2 separate regions of the Homo sapiens genome follow, and region 2 is linked to region 1. The links are contacts of gene promoters, found by promoter capture Hi-C in blood cells and fetal thymus (Javierre and others, 2016). All regions are on one chromosome and are shown on one strand. Each heading gives the region's core, a stretch centred on a gene start or on the middle of the fragment in contact. The rest is flanking DNA. Distances are from core to core; before and after follow the strand shown.

Region 1 (7,143 bases), core at 3,638-6,137:
GCTTCAAAGTAACAGCAAAAATAAACAGGAGAATAAAGCACGTGTTTGAGCCCAGTGGTTTCCATCAGATGCACAACCTGAGCTGTCTGGTTGGGTTGCTGGCTCTCCCCCCGTGGTGGGAGTGGTGTGCAAGAGAAAGCACCACCCAGCAGGAGAGGGACCCAGCCTGCCAGGGAAGGTTTTGAGGAACTGGATTCTTTATCACCCATTTCTCCCCTTGTGGGTTCCACAGAGGGGTTCCATGACCTCCCTGTTGTTGAGAACAGGGCTGCATTCAGAGAACAGACGATGGGCCTGGGCTGTGAGAGCAATCAGAACACTGTGAAAATAGGAGGGCTCGTTGGATCCCAGGAATCATACACAGACTGCGTTGGGGCTGTGGGAAGCCAAGGACAGAAATGTCTCCTTCACCCCAAATGATAAGGGCAAGGATTTTCAAGGCCCAGAGGGAGAAATGTTGCATTTGCATTTATTTAAGTGCTGATGTTGGTCAGCAGCGCATCCAGCCATGTCTTTAGAATCCTCTGAATGGCCAGACAGATGGCTGCTCTCCACACCACAGACTGCCCAGCTTCACACATCACCTAGAGTCTCGTGGCCAAGGAAGTTTTGCCAAATGGACACAGCCTTTGTCTCCCTTAAGTGTTAAACACCAGAGTTCCAACTGAAAACTGGAGACCATGAGATGACTTTAAAAAGAAGTTCCAAATGCCCCATCGAGCCGCACAAAACCTCCATCTTTCCTTTCACTTCCCCTGCCCCTTTAGTTTTCTATTAAAAACAATCTGAACCATAGCATCTATATTTCAAAACTGGCAAGAGTATTAACCCTGCACCTTGTGGCCCTTCAACCACTCCAGAGTGTCACCTCAGAGACCGATGCATTGCTAAGGCAAAACCAGAAACACCCTTTCTCTGAGGCTTTGGGGCCTTGGAGGGAGACACATTTCCTCTGTCTGTTCTCCTGCACAGTGGTGGTAAAAAGCCCACAGGAGACATGAGGCCTCCCAGAGATACTCAGGTAACTTCTAGTGACTCTGACCATCGGTGACCCCCAGGAATGTGTTCCAGTGCCCCAGGCAGAATGGTGCCGTGTCTCTGTGTGTGTGTGTGTGTGTGTGTGTGTGTGTGTGAGAGAGAGAGAGAGAGAGAAAGAGTGCACACTATCGACTACATTATCATAGGGAGAAATATTTGCAAATGTAACTTTTAAAATGAGGATATAATTTAAATGGCTTTGAGCAGTTTTTGCTGTAAAAATGATTTTAGTTAGTCATCTCTTTCCCTCTTCCTTCCCTCCTTACCCCCAATTTTAAGGAAAAGAGACAGAGAACAAAAGTTCCTTAAGCAAACTGCCTGACTAGCTCCCTACTTGGTGTGTGCGCCACCCACACTTCAGGATTTAAAATCTCAGGATGCTGCATCAACTGTGGACTATGAACTGTGCTAAAATGCTTTAAAATGACAACTTTCAAAACACAGTGCATCATCTCCCGTTCACACATCCTTTAGGAAACAGCCTGATGGAACTTTCTGCAGGGCTTCCTCTGTCTGAGCTCGGAGCACTGGCATTCCGGGCAGGATGAAGTGGAGGCGGGGCCACAGGCAGGGTGTCTGAGGCCTGCCCTGGCTCAAAGACAGGTTGTCCTTGAATTTGTTTCCTTGTTAGTGTTGATCACATCCGTAGTCAAGTGTGTGGTAACCTCAGTACATTTGGATGAATTAATTCAAGTATCTGTGAACAAATCCCTGGCCTCTCTCGCCCTAGCCCCGTAGATTATGTGACTTCACAAACACCTGTAATGCACTTCAAGCAACTTTTCTCATATTTTTCAAGCTTCCTTTGCAAATAAACCCAAGGCTATTAGAAATGTAAGAACTAAAGAGGCACTTCCTGCCTCCTTGCCACCTAAGAGGTTAATTGCACTTCTGGCCATTCTGGAGGATGTCAACAGTATCACATTTAGCAAGACTTGTGCTGGCGAAATGGAGGAATGCAAATGTAAAGAAATGTTTCCAGTCCGAACATGTTCCCTTTGACCAAAAAACCAGATCTTCTTACCTAATTGAATAATTAATTGATTTAGTTTTCATCCTAGGAAGAGAAACAAATCATTTCAATCCTAATCAGCATGAGCAACTCACCTTTTCCTCTTAGATGGTGGAAGTGAGCAGAGAAGATATTCAGGGGAGCCCCTTAGCCCCGGCCTCCTCACACCCTGATCCGGAATTGGTCACATTGGAATTTGAAAAGGGAGGGGGAGTAACAATCATTATAGAGTCACGAAATCCCCACCGTGGCACGCCAACACACAGCTTCCACTTCAGGAACATCAAACACCCGTAGAAAATACCTGCATGTTCCAAGGGGCCTTTAAGGAGGAGACTTACAATTGTTTGCTAAGATTCCAGTCCAGTCTTTCAAAAAAATGTGGGTGCCCCTTTGGAATGGGGAGTTCAAAGCTCTGAGGATGGTGGCTGGTGACTCTAGTGTCTCTAGGGCCACCTCACTTTCAGCAGTCTGTCCCAGGTGTCGGACTATGGGAAACAAAACAGACAGCGTTGGAAGCCATGGCGCCTCTGTGCCTGCACGTCCCCACCTTGGGAGAGAGCCCCACGTGCGGCCGTGCTGCAGATGGGCAGTATGCTCTAAGGGGGCCCGAGTGCCTGGCGTGGGGGGAGGTTGAGGGGTCAGCTGCAAGGACCAGGGTGTGTCTGCCCACAGGAAACCTGGGCCTGCTCTTGCTGCCACCTCTTTGTACTGTAGTCAGTGCCCCCATGCCTGCCCATCCCCTCCCCCGGTCACTCAGGGCCCCCTTTACCTGTACTGGTTCTCCATGGCCCTGCTCTCAGCTCGCTCTGGAACCCAGGAGTAACTGTCTGCCGCATTCTGGGGCTTCTTCTCCTTCTTCTCCTCCCTCTTCGCTCTCCGCTTGCGATAGACCAGTAGCCCCAGAGCCAGGGCCAGCAGGAGTAGGATGGCCACCACGGTGCCTAGGATGTAGAATAAAAGCAGCTTTTGCCCGTCAGTGCCATCGTTGTTTTGTGTGGCCACGGAGGAGTCCCCACCTGCAGGCTCCTGGGGGCCAGAGGCAGCTGTGGCGTGATGGATGCTGGGCTCCCTCCAGACGCCTGGGGACCCACTGGGGGCCAGCATCTTGAGTGGGGCAGATGTGATGGGGGCGTCAGATGACAGCGAAGGTCTACTTGTGGTGGGTGTAGCCTTGGGGGTGCCCTCGGGGCCCCTTGTGGGACTGGCTGTTGCAGCACGGGGCACGGTGCTCCCTTCTTTCTCTCCTTTGTCCTCCTCATCGGGGGGCCCAGATGGTGGTCCCAGAGACACAGGCCCCATGGTGCAAGAGACCCCATTTGGGGCCAGCACCCAGCCTGGCAGGCAGCCACAGTGGAAGGACCCTTGTGTGTTGAAGCACAAGCTGTCGCAGAGGGGGCCCCCCGGGCCCACACACTCATCCACGTCCTGGCACTGAGTCCCGTCCTCCCCGGCCAGGACGTAGCCCTCCTCACAGGAGCAGTGAAATGAGCCATCTGTGTTGGTGCAGCCCTGGGCGCAAGGCGAGCGACCCAGAGCACACTCATCCACATCCTGACAGGCCCCCTCTCCAGGACCGCCCGGCTCATAGCCAACCCAGCATTCGCAGCGGAAGCCCCCAGGGGTGTTGACACACTCCTGGGCACAGGGGGAGTCCTGGCATTCATCCACGTCCACACAGTCCAGCTGACTCGAGTCCAGCTGGTACCCTTGGGGGCAGCGGCACGTGTAGTTTTTCCCATGGGGTCCCAGGACGCACGTGGCCCCCCCACGACATGGGCTGGAGCTGCAAGGGTTTCGAGAGGCACAGGTCACCAGGTCATCCAGCAGCCGGAATCCTGGTCGGCAGCCGCAGAGGAAGGAGCCATCCCCCCCTTCAAAGCAGTCCTGGTGGCAGCCCCCATTGTTGAAGTTGCAGCCATACTTGGGGCTGACACAGAGGGGGCCCGAGCTGCCCCAGTCGAACACATCGGGGGCCTTCTCCTTGCACAGGAAATAATGACTCTGAGTCTCGTCCTTGTCACCTTCCCCACAGGCTACATTGGCCGCAGAGGCAAAGGGCACAGCCTCCAAGGAGGAACTGGTGGTCTGGAAGGGGGTGGTGTAGGTCACCTGACCTGGGCCCCCCAGGGCCAGAGGCCGGCACATGCCTTTGAAGCTGAACTTGCACACGAAGCCCTCAATGTTACTTCCGGGGGAGCCTGGGCTCCCACAGGGGCCCTCAGACCACTTGGGGAGGCGGCTGGGAAGGAGCGGCTGGGACAGGTCCAGCAGCAGAGACACACAGCGCTTGGAGATGCACGAGTTCCGGAGCTCCTTGTGCCAGTTAGAGTAAGGCGTGTCCTCCCCCCCGCCCACCCAGCTGAAGCCCTTCAGCGGCAGACTAGGGTCCAGGCACTTGCCCTTCTCTCGCTGGAGCCCAATCCAGAACTTGCTCATCCTCGCCGTCAGGGCTGCCTCCCGCCTCAGGAGCTGGGCCAGTACTCGCTGGACGTGCTGGGCCTCCTCCTTGCTCTTCACAGTGGCCAGGTTGCCCCCGTTCTGGTTGCAGTGGTTCTGGGCCTCGGCAGCGCTCAGCTTGCCCGAGTGGGCCGTGTAGCAGGCGGTCCCCACGCAGACCACCGCCTCCGTGTCAGCTCCCGTCCCCGCCCCGGGCTGGGTCAGGAGCAGCAGCAGCAGCAGCAGCAGGCCCATGGAGGTGGCCATCCCGGTCTCTGTGTGGCCCTCTGCGGGAGGCGAGAAGCCCAGCGGCGACAGGAGCTTCTATCTCGGCTCCCAGCTGGGCCCCAAGGGGAGCTGAGGGGTGAGCTGCAGCCACTCCGGCGCAGAGAAGGACACAAAGGCTGAGGGCTTTCCACGTCCCCCTGACCCAAGGCGCATCCTGTACTGTTGTACTTCTTATTTCTCACCGGATGTTGGGGCTTCCTGCAATGAATAGTTCTCTGACTCCTGCTGCCTTCATCACGGTGCTGTTGTTCATAAAAGGAGTCAGGCAGCTCTGCCGGGTCCCTGGCTCAGCACTGTGGAAACAGCGACGGGGGGAAGACGTTACAGCCCCGAGATACTGCCGGCTTGATTTTGGCTCCATTCTCTTTCTCATGGCATGAGGAGCCTCGGAGGCATGCCATGGAGTGAGCAGGGGCTTTGGGGGCTAGGAACTCGAGGAAGCTCCCTTAGTAACCCATAATAAAATTCCACTTTGGTTTGCAAACCACCAAAAGAGAAAAAAAAAATTCTGAGACTTAAGACACAAGGCCATGGATGGTTATAATTTTCAGCCTTTTTTAGAAGCAAACTGGACTTTCCTTTTGCCTAGCTCATGTTCTCTGTTGACTTTGGGAGCCTTTTTTCTTTTATCCTCCCATCGTGAACCTTAAATAGACAGGCATTTTTTAAATAGGATACGGGTCGTGGGAATGTCTGGGTTTTCAACATAATGCCAAGCTCCTCGATAATGTTAATCCAAATTGGGTGAAATTTGGCAGTTCTGGGGGTTTCATAGTGGAAATATTGCATTGTGAGGTGTCAGGGTCACAAAAAGCATCAGAAAGAAAATGAAAATGTGTCCGGCCTCGTGGCGCAGGGCTTGCAGGCTCACTTCCCCCGGCTCAGGATTCCTAGCAAGGGCCGGAAATCTGGGCAGGGAGCGGGAATCGAAGCCCGGGCAGGCCCTCCCGCGACACCGCGACTCGGCAAAAGCCAGGGACTCACAGTGTGCTTTTCCTGCAGCCACAGACCTTTGCTCATTGGTTGGGATCCCCCAGGAGGGGACCCTGAGACAGGATTTGGGGAGACTAGTTTATGTGGGAGGGGAAGTGAAACAGACAAGGAGGAAGCCAACCCATGATGACTTGCTGAGAAGGTGACCCTGGGCTGCTGGAGCCAGTGCCAGGAAACTCTGGGGGCCTGAGGGGACCACACCTCAGCACCATCTCAGCTGAGGGAGAGGCTCCACTGCTCTCCAAGTCCCCTGTCATTGGTAGCAGGCTGTATCTCTCACTTTGAGAGACTGACTATAAATTCTAGCCCTGCCCAGTGACCAGGGGTCTCTCTCACATAAAACTTGTTTCTATGGACAGACACCCTTGTGGCTCTCGTCTGACCCATGTCCAGTTTATTCCTATCAAGACAGCCACTTCCTAAGAGATCCCTGATGGGAGGAGAGTTGGGTTGGGGTGTGGGTCAGGGGAGATGCAGGAGGCAGCACAAGAAGACACAGGAAGCAACACAAGCACCGTGTCACTTACAGATCCCAGGGAGAGGGCAGTGCACCCCACGGGGCCAGCAAAAAGTGGGGAGCTGTCTGGGTCACAAACACTCACCTGGAGGGGGGTGAAGGGAGAGAGAGAGACCTGGGTCCTAAGCCTTTATTGGGGTCCAGGACGTTTCCCAAGCAGGTTTCCCAAGGGGACTTCTCACTGGTGGGTTTAGAGCAAACAGACACGGGCTCCGTGGGGTCCCTGTGGCTGAGAGGTGGGCATGGCGGCATGTCTGGGAAGTCCCTGTGGGGTGTGGAGTCACTGAGACCATCAAATGGGCTGTATCTGCCTGTCCCACAGGGAAATGGTCACCAGGAGGTGGGTGTACAAGGCAGATATCTGGGTTGGCCGCATTGAGGAACTGGGAGGGGGTGGAGCCCTAGACACCGTGTCAAGAGCAATAAACCCTGCTTCTGGTAGGAGAGGGTCCAAATTAGATTCAAAATGGATGCAATGCACAATTATAAGAATTCTCTACACAGCGGCAACTCTTTGGTGCTCTGCACTGACCGTGAGGGCCCCAGGGGAAGAAGCGCCACGGTGGAGAACACAGTGAACGCCTGTGGACCCGGCACCAGCGACCACCACAGTGGCCTCCATGGAGATGTTGAGTTGTCCCGGGGGCTAGGAGCTCGCTGGCTCCCCAAGGGACAAGGAGGCATCTCTGACTCCAGCTGGATACCTCCTAAGAATGTGCCTTAAGTCCTTGCATTTTAGCAAAGATATTTGAGACATTTTGGGAACTCTCCATAGAAGCCACCAGACCCTCCCTGTGCCCCTTCATTCATCCATCTGTTTGTCCATCCACCCATCTAACAATTGTTGATTAAGACC
Region 2 (6,994 bases), core at 3,212-5,711, 740 kb before region 1:
AGGGTCATCTCGTGGCCTGTCCTATAAAGGCCATTCATTTGCAGGAAAGGTCTAGGAAGGCAAGGAAACCAATGTTTGCCAGGGCTTACTGTGAGTTAGATATGTCTACTCTTGAACATGCAGAAACACCAGAAAAGACTATTGATCCAGCAAAGCGAAATTTGTTTCACCTGCTGCATTTGCGGAGGGCAGTTGGGGGAGCCTCTGAGCATAGGGTCTCAGAACGGGGAAGTCAGGAAAGGATGTTTACTGGGTTTTAGTGAGAAGGCGGTAGTAATTTTTAAGGTCGATTTTGGAAGGTGGGAAGCCACTGGGTTTGGGCAGAGTTTCTGACCAACTATAGATTGGTAGCACAGCAAGATGAAGGAAGTGAAATGAACTAGTGTTAGTCTTGATAAGGAAACAATGTAATTGGTGCAGAGTCTTAATTTCAGGAGAAATTCCTGGATGTGATTTTTGCTTGTTCTCAGCATTGCAGGTAAGTCATTTTTGCTTGTTCTCCATATTGTTTACCAAGGCCATCTGCTTTCAGTTCTCAGGCACTAGGGGCAGACCAGTAGCTAGAAACAGACAAGATTCCTGCTCTCAAGGAGCCATGTCCCTGTTAGGTAGCCACTGTTCTTATTAGACAGTGTAGAAAAGAACGGGAGATGAATAATGATATTCCAATTTCCACACATAAGTGAAAGCTGGGTCTGGGATTTGAAGTTGAGACTTAAATTTTGGTTCTTTGAACTCCTAGCCTCTGCAATGGTAACACTCAGTCAAGAACATTCTCCACTCCATTCTTCTCTGCTCTCCCAGTAAAATACCCAGAGCAGGGTCATCACAGAGGGAAGACCAGGACTCTTGGGATCTCACAGAGATACTTGACCCCATGCTCATAGCAGCATTATTCACAATAGCCAAGGTATAGTAGAAAGAGCCTAAATCCCATCTGTGATGCATGGATAAAAAGAATGTGGTATACACTTACAGTGGAGTATTATTCAACCTCCAAAAAGGAAGATAATTCTGTAATCTGTGACAACATGGATGGAGCTGGAGGACATTATGTTAAGTGAAATCAGCCAGGCACAGAAAGACAAATATCACGTGATCTCACTTATACATGGAATCCAAAATAGTGAAACTGTAAAAGTCAAGGGTGTAATGGTGGTTTCCAGGGGCTGCGGGGGGAAGCAGAGGTGTTGATCAAAGGTGGAAAGTTTCAGCCAGGCGAGAGGAGTAGGTTCTGGAGACTGTGGTGCAGGATAGTGCCAACAGCTAATGATGCAGTATTGCATTCCTAAGATTCTCTAAGAGGGTAGAGCTTATATGACGCGTTCTTATAATAATAATAATAGGGGTGAGAAGAAACTTCGAGAGGTCTAGACATTTAATTATGTATAGCTTTATACATATTAATTTTACCTCAATAAAGTGATTTTTGAAAAAGAAAAGAAAATCCTCCTTGTGGAAATTTACAGAGGATGATTCCAGAAAGATACTATATCATAGACTATCAATCATTTGGCTTATCTCTCAAGCTCTTATAAACAGTAGGAATATTAATGGACTTTATTAACCTATAGGTCAATGAATTTTAATTTATTTAATTATCTTTAAATTTTCCTTGACAGGAGGAGAAAATAAGTAGGGCTTATTGAACAATAAAGAACATTTATTTTATATCAAAGTATAGGTCCCTATGCAGCCTTTATTTTATCTTTAATATTCAGAAGTGAATCCACAATGGCTTTCCTTCTTACTTATATGGCAACCAAAACTGTATGACATGGCAAAATATCACAAAACAGAAGCTAGAAGTTGAAGCTGTAATAAAAACTACCAGAATATGTGAATAATCTGATTTTTTAAATGGAATGACAGCACCTATGGTGTGGCTTTTCTTGCTAAACAGAGACACATTTTTATCCCTACAAATGGTGTCATGTATTTTTTTTCAGTCAGTTGTGTCATATTCTGGCTTCATACTTTTTTCCATGCTCATTTAAGGCCATGGAGTTGTCTAATACCTGTTAAGATCTTGGATAGTTTTGACCACCAGGAGGCGTGTTAGACCAGCAAATTGACACTTCGTCACTAGCGTCCATCCTTGAACACTTCGGAAGATTAAAGGTTAAAGATGAACGTGAGCCTCACTGAAAGTGATTGTAGAGAGATAAAGAGAAGGATTATAATTTTCAAAAGAAACTCTGAGGGTTTTTTTGTTTTGTTTTGCTTTTCAATTCAGCTCAAACCAAATGGTTGCTTTTTTTCCGTTTTTGTAAACTTGCGTCATGTACCTGTGAATTTCGGGCAGGGGCTGAGGTGTGGGGAGCTCTGCTGAAACTTTAAAGCAGAGTCGTGATTCTCTGCCCCCCTCCATTACAAAAGGCAGGCAATAATGTAAATAGAACGTTAGACAGGCTGTGGTTTGTGCTCAGCTGCTCAGGGTTTGCAGGACTGCTGCTTCCAGGAATCTAGCTTTCTCCAGGCTCAGCCTCAATTCAAGTAAGGCTGGACTGGCAGGACTAAATAGAAACTTACCCACTTTTGTTACCTCTTTTCTGAGTCCAGCAGGGAGGCAATCTTAGATCGTAGAAATTACTGCCCTACAGAAATGCCGATGTCCAGAGAGAAAGTGGCATGTCTAGTGCTGTTAATTTCACTACTGCTTTGTGTTATCGCTTTAATAAGATAGGGACTTATCCCAGCGGGGGCTGGGAGTAATGCCATTATTAAATGATTTTCTCTTGGCTCCAAACCCACCTTTCTATATCCTGCCTTGTGATGCCAGCACTGGGACTCTGCAAACTGCAGTTGGGCTTGGCCAGATGCTCCTGGCAAGGGGACGCTAGAGTGAGGCCGCAAATCTGGAGGGAGAGGGGCCCGACCGTTCCTCCTGAGGACTTCCTCCTCCTCCCAGCATCTCTCCAGCAAGGCCGCTTCCACCCAGCAGTGGCAGTTCCTTCCCACTGTTGCAGCTGAATCATGTTTGTAGTTTTCCAAAACTCACAAAACCAGCCCTATCATGCCCTCTTAGAGACTTCAGCTTACCCTTGCATAACTCCAAGTCCAAAGCCTGTGCAAAACAGTTCAGCTGACTTGGAAGGGAGATTGGCAGTTTCTTACAAAAGTAATCATATTGTTACCCTGTGAAGCAGCAGGCAGGCTCTTTGATATTTGCCCAGATAAGTTGAAAACTTGTGTCTCTACAAAAAAACTACATGAGAATGTTTATGCCAACTTTATTCATAATTGCCAAAATTTGGATACAACCAAGATGTCCTTCAACAGCGAGTGGATAAACAGACTGTAGTACATCCAGACGATGGAATATTATTCAGTAATAAAAAGAAAAAGCTAACCAGCCACAGAAAAAGACATAGAGGAACCTTAAACGCATATTGATAAAGAAAGAAGTCAATCTGAAAAGGCTGCATACTGTATGATTTCAACGATATGACATTCTGGAAAAGCCAAATCTATGGAGAAGTAAAAAGAGTAGTGTTTGTCAGAGGTTCAGCTGGGGTGGGGTTGTTGGGGATGAGTAGAGGGAGGGATGAATAGGTACAGGAGAGACAATTTTTTAATTTTTATTTTTTTAAGACGGGGTCTTATTCTGTCACCCAAGCTGAAGCATGATCATAGCTCACTGCAGCCTTGAACTATGGGACTCAAGGGATCTCCCATTGCAGCCTCCAGAATAGCTGAGACCACAGGCACACACCACCACACAAGCTTAGCACAGGAGATTTTTAGGGCAGTTAAAAGTATTCTGTATGGTACCCTATGGTGGATGCATGTCATTATGCATTTGTCAAAACCCATAGGATGTACCCAAGAGTGAACCCTAATGTGAACTCTGGACTTAACTATGGACTTTAATGAATAATAACATAACAATATTGGCTCATCAATTATAACAAATGTACCACATCATTGCAAGATGGTAATAATAAGGGGAGTGGGGGGGTGCAGGAGCATATGGGAACTTGATACCATCTACTCAATTTTCCAAAAACCTAAAACTGCTCTAAAAATAGTCTATTAATTAATTATTTAAGAACTCAAAGAAACAAAAGCCTTGGCAGTGTTTTTTACATTGATCAGTTATGTGCCCCACCATGGCTGGTCCAGGCCTGAGTCTCTCTTGCTCCACTCTTAGCATCTCCTGTGTGTATTTCGTCAAACCCATGTCAACTGTGTGGGCCACTCTCTGAACTCCTCCCTCTCCATGAGCTCCCAGGATTTTCTAGTTCCCTGGAGTCCCTTTTTAGGTCTTCTGGCAACAAAGCTGGAATTTTAGTTACTTGGTTCTGTGTGTACTTCAGCAACTGCATCTGCATCGAGTGCCGAGGGATAAAAGTAACAGACAAAAAAAAAAAATCACCAGCAGTTTCAGCACTTTAAGTTCCAGTCCTCTTCTATGAGTCACTTTTCAGAGTCCTCACAGCTGCCCTGTGCCTTATGTTCAGGTTTTATAGCGACATCCGCTGAGCAAGATGAGTGGCATGTGCTTATCCCATTATACGTGGGACCAGGACTTCTTATTATTTAGATATTCACATGACCAGTGCCAAATGGATATATCGGCTATAACATAAAGTGACCTGCACCTCTCAAAAATGCCAAGGTCAAATCAGACAAAAACTACTGAGGAGTTGTCCAAAATTAAAGCAGACCGAAGAGACGGAGCATAGCTCTAAAGTATATCACTGGAGAAACTGGCAACATTTAAATACAGTCTGTGGATTGAAAGTATTGTATCCAAGTTAAATGTGCCGATTTGGGTAACTGTTATGGTTATGGAAAGGGATATCCTGTTCTTTGGAAATAGACACCAAAATATATATTAGGCAGAGGGGATGCTATCTTTAGCTCACTTTCAAATGGTTCAAAATGCACATACACATACACTCTCTCTCACATACATATGCATGCACACGCGCACACACACACACACCTGCACATGCATGCAAGCTGAGGGGTGTAGAAGAAGGAACAATCCTAAAGGGACTGCTATTCCTAACCTGACCCTGTCCTAGGCCACCAGCACACAGCACCCAACCAGCATTCAACCTTCCGACTGGACATGGACACCCTCTAGTTGCCTCAATGGCTCAGGGCACATGCGGAGGGCTGGCTGGGCCCAGCTGACAAGAATTCATATATTTGGTGAACTTCCTTAGAGTGAAATAGACAGGCTCACAAGCTTGTTCCGTGAGATACACACACACACACACACACACACACACACACTCCCCACTCAATGAGTCGTTAGAATGGAGAAGCACATGTTTAAAATCCATAAAACAAGACATAGAACAACAGAGTAGCTTGATGGTGAACTCGGCATCTTTGTGGCTGTGTTCATGTGGCATTCATTCATTCATTCATTCATTCGATAAATGTTTACTGAGCTACCACTTGCAAGGAAGTGCTGACAATAGTCCTGTAAAAAAGACACTTTCTCTGCACTCCTTAAAATGACAATCTTTTGGTGGAGAATTATTAGCAGGGTTTATTGGGCCCCACCTGGGGAACTCAGGTAGAAATAAGAGGACAGTTTTGCAGAGGGCTGCAAGTCTCCCAGTGCTGCACAGAGGAAAAAGCTTGAGAACTTCAGTTGAATATTGTCAGGCTAACACCACGCTTGTCCCTGGAGACCTGGGACCACAAGACAGAAAGAAGGCTATTAGGTCTTAGGGACTCTACCCTGCTAAGGAGTTTGGACGTTTTGTTTTTGGTGTTTTGTTTTGTTTTGTTTTGTTTTGTTTTGTTTTGTTTTGACAGAGTCTTTCTCTGTTGCCCAGGCTAGAGTGCAGTGGCACGATCTCGGCTCACTGCAAAGTCTGCCTCCCAGGTTCAAGCAATTCTCCTGCCTCAGCCTCCTGAGCGGCTGGGATTACAGGCGTCCGCCACCGTGCCCGACTAATTTTTGTATTTTTTAGTAGAGACGGAGTTTCACCATCTTGGCCAGGCTGGTCTCGAATTCCTGACCTCCTGATCCACCCACCTCGGCTTCTCAAAGTGCTAGAATTACAGGCGTGAGCCACCGCTCTCGGCCGGAGTTTGGACTTTTGATAGGACACCCGATGCAATTGATTGATGTGTGTGTGTGTGTGTGTGTGTGTGTGTGTGTGTGTGTGTGTGAGATCCATTGAATGTGGACGCTCAAGGCCTGGACAGAGTAGGAAGTGCACAGAAGGCTGAGCAGGCAGGCACGTGGGTGGGACTCAGGCCCACCTCTGGCCCCAGAAGGGGATGCCAGGCGGTGGGGACCAGCTTAGACAGGCAAAGGGGACTGTGGGAAGGTGTGGGAAGCTGTCCCAGGCTGCAGACCCACCAGGGTACCCTGAAGGCTGGCCCTGGAGAAGGTATTTAAGCCAAGAGGTGAGTGCCCAAGCCGGAGCCTGGCCCAGGGGACACGGTTGGGCCTGTTTCGGGGCACCCGGAACCTAGGGACTGGCATGGCCGGGACCTCCCGGAGCTGCTGCTGGAACTCAAGGCGCCTCTTCCGGTTGGACTTCAGCGGCTACTGGAGGCAGGCGTGGAGGGGGTCGTTCTCCTGCCGGTGGTCCAGACAGAAGTTGACCTGGTCCAGGATGTGATGGCAGCATATTCTGCTTCCCGGAAGCCGTCGCCCTTGCCTTGGTCTCCCGCTGTCCCCGCACGCCCACGTTCCGCATGGGACCTGACTCAGGCACCAGGAGGGCCCCGCGACGAAGGAGCGCGGCGACCTTCGCTCTGAAAGCGGGAGCCGGGTGGGGGCATTGGGGGTGGTCAGGGAGGATCGCAGATGCGTTTTAGACAATAAGACAACAGACAGTGGCGATTCCCAACCCTGGCTGCACAATAGAATGAGGGCCTTTTGGGGTCTCAAACTGATCTAAGAGTAAAGTCTAATAATTTTTAAAAATCACCCTAGGCCAGTGGTTCTGAAAATATGGTCCAGAGACCCTCGAGGCCCTAAGGATCCTTTTCAGAGGTCCATAAATTCAAAACT

The links. Contacts are between HindIII fragments. The CHiCAGO score rates a contact against its expected background, and 5 or more counts as called.
Region 2: a fragment that was not itself captured here is called in contact with the fragment with the promoter of CD93 in region 1 in 1 of 17 cell types (erythroblasts); the score reaches 5.6 in erythroblasts.

What each region holds. Positions count from the first base shown.
Region 1 is chr20:23,081,437-23,088,579 of GRCh38, forward strand. CD93 (CD93 molecule) reads right to left here and starts at 4,888. Exons shown (of 2, transcript NM_012072.4): 1 at 2,823-4,888; 2 at 1-2,538. The coding sequence starts at 4,756. The coding sequence ends at 2,514. RefSeq lists enhancers at 4,872-5,051, 6,579-6,718. The HindIII fragment of the contact is 6,182 bases long and covers 1,836-7,143 here.
Region 2 is chr20:22,337,244-22,344,237 of GRCh38, forward strand. It overlaps the pseudogene BBLNP1. Among named protein-coding and RNA genes, the nearest start is that of LINC01427, 58 kb to the left of the region's middle. The HindIII fragment of the contact is 1,474 bases long and covers 3,725-5,198 here.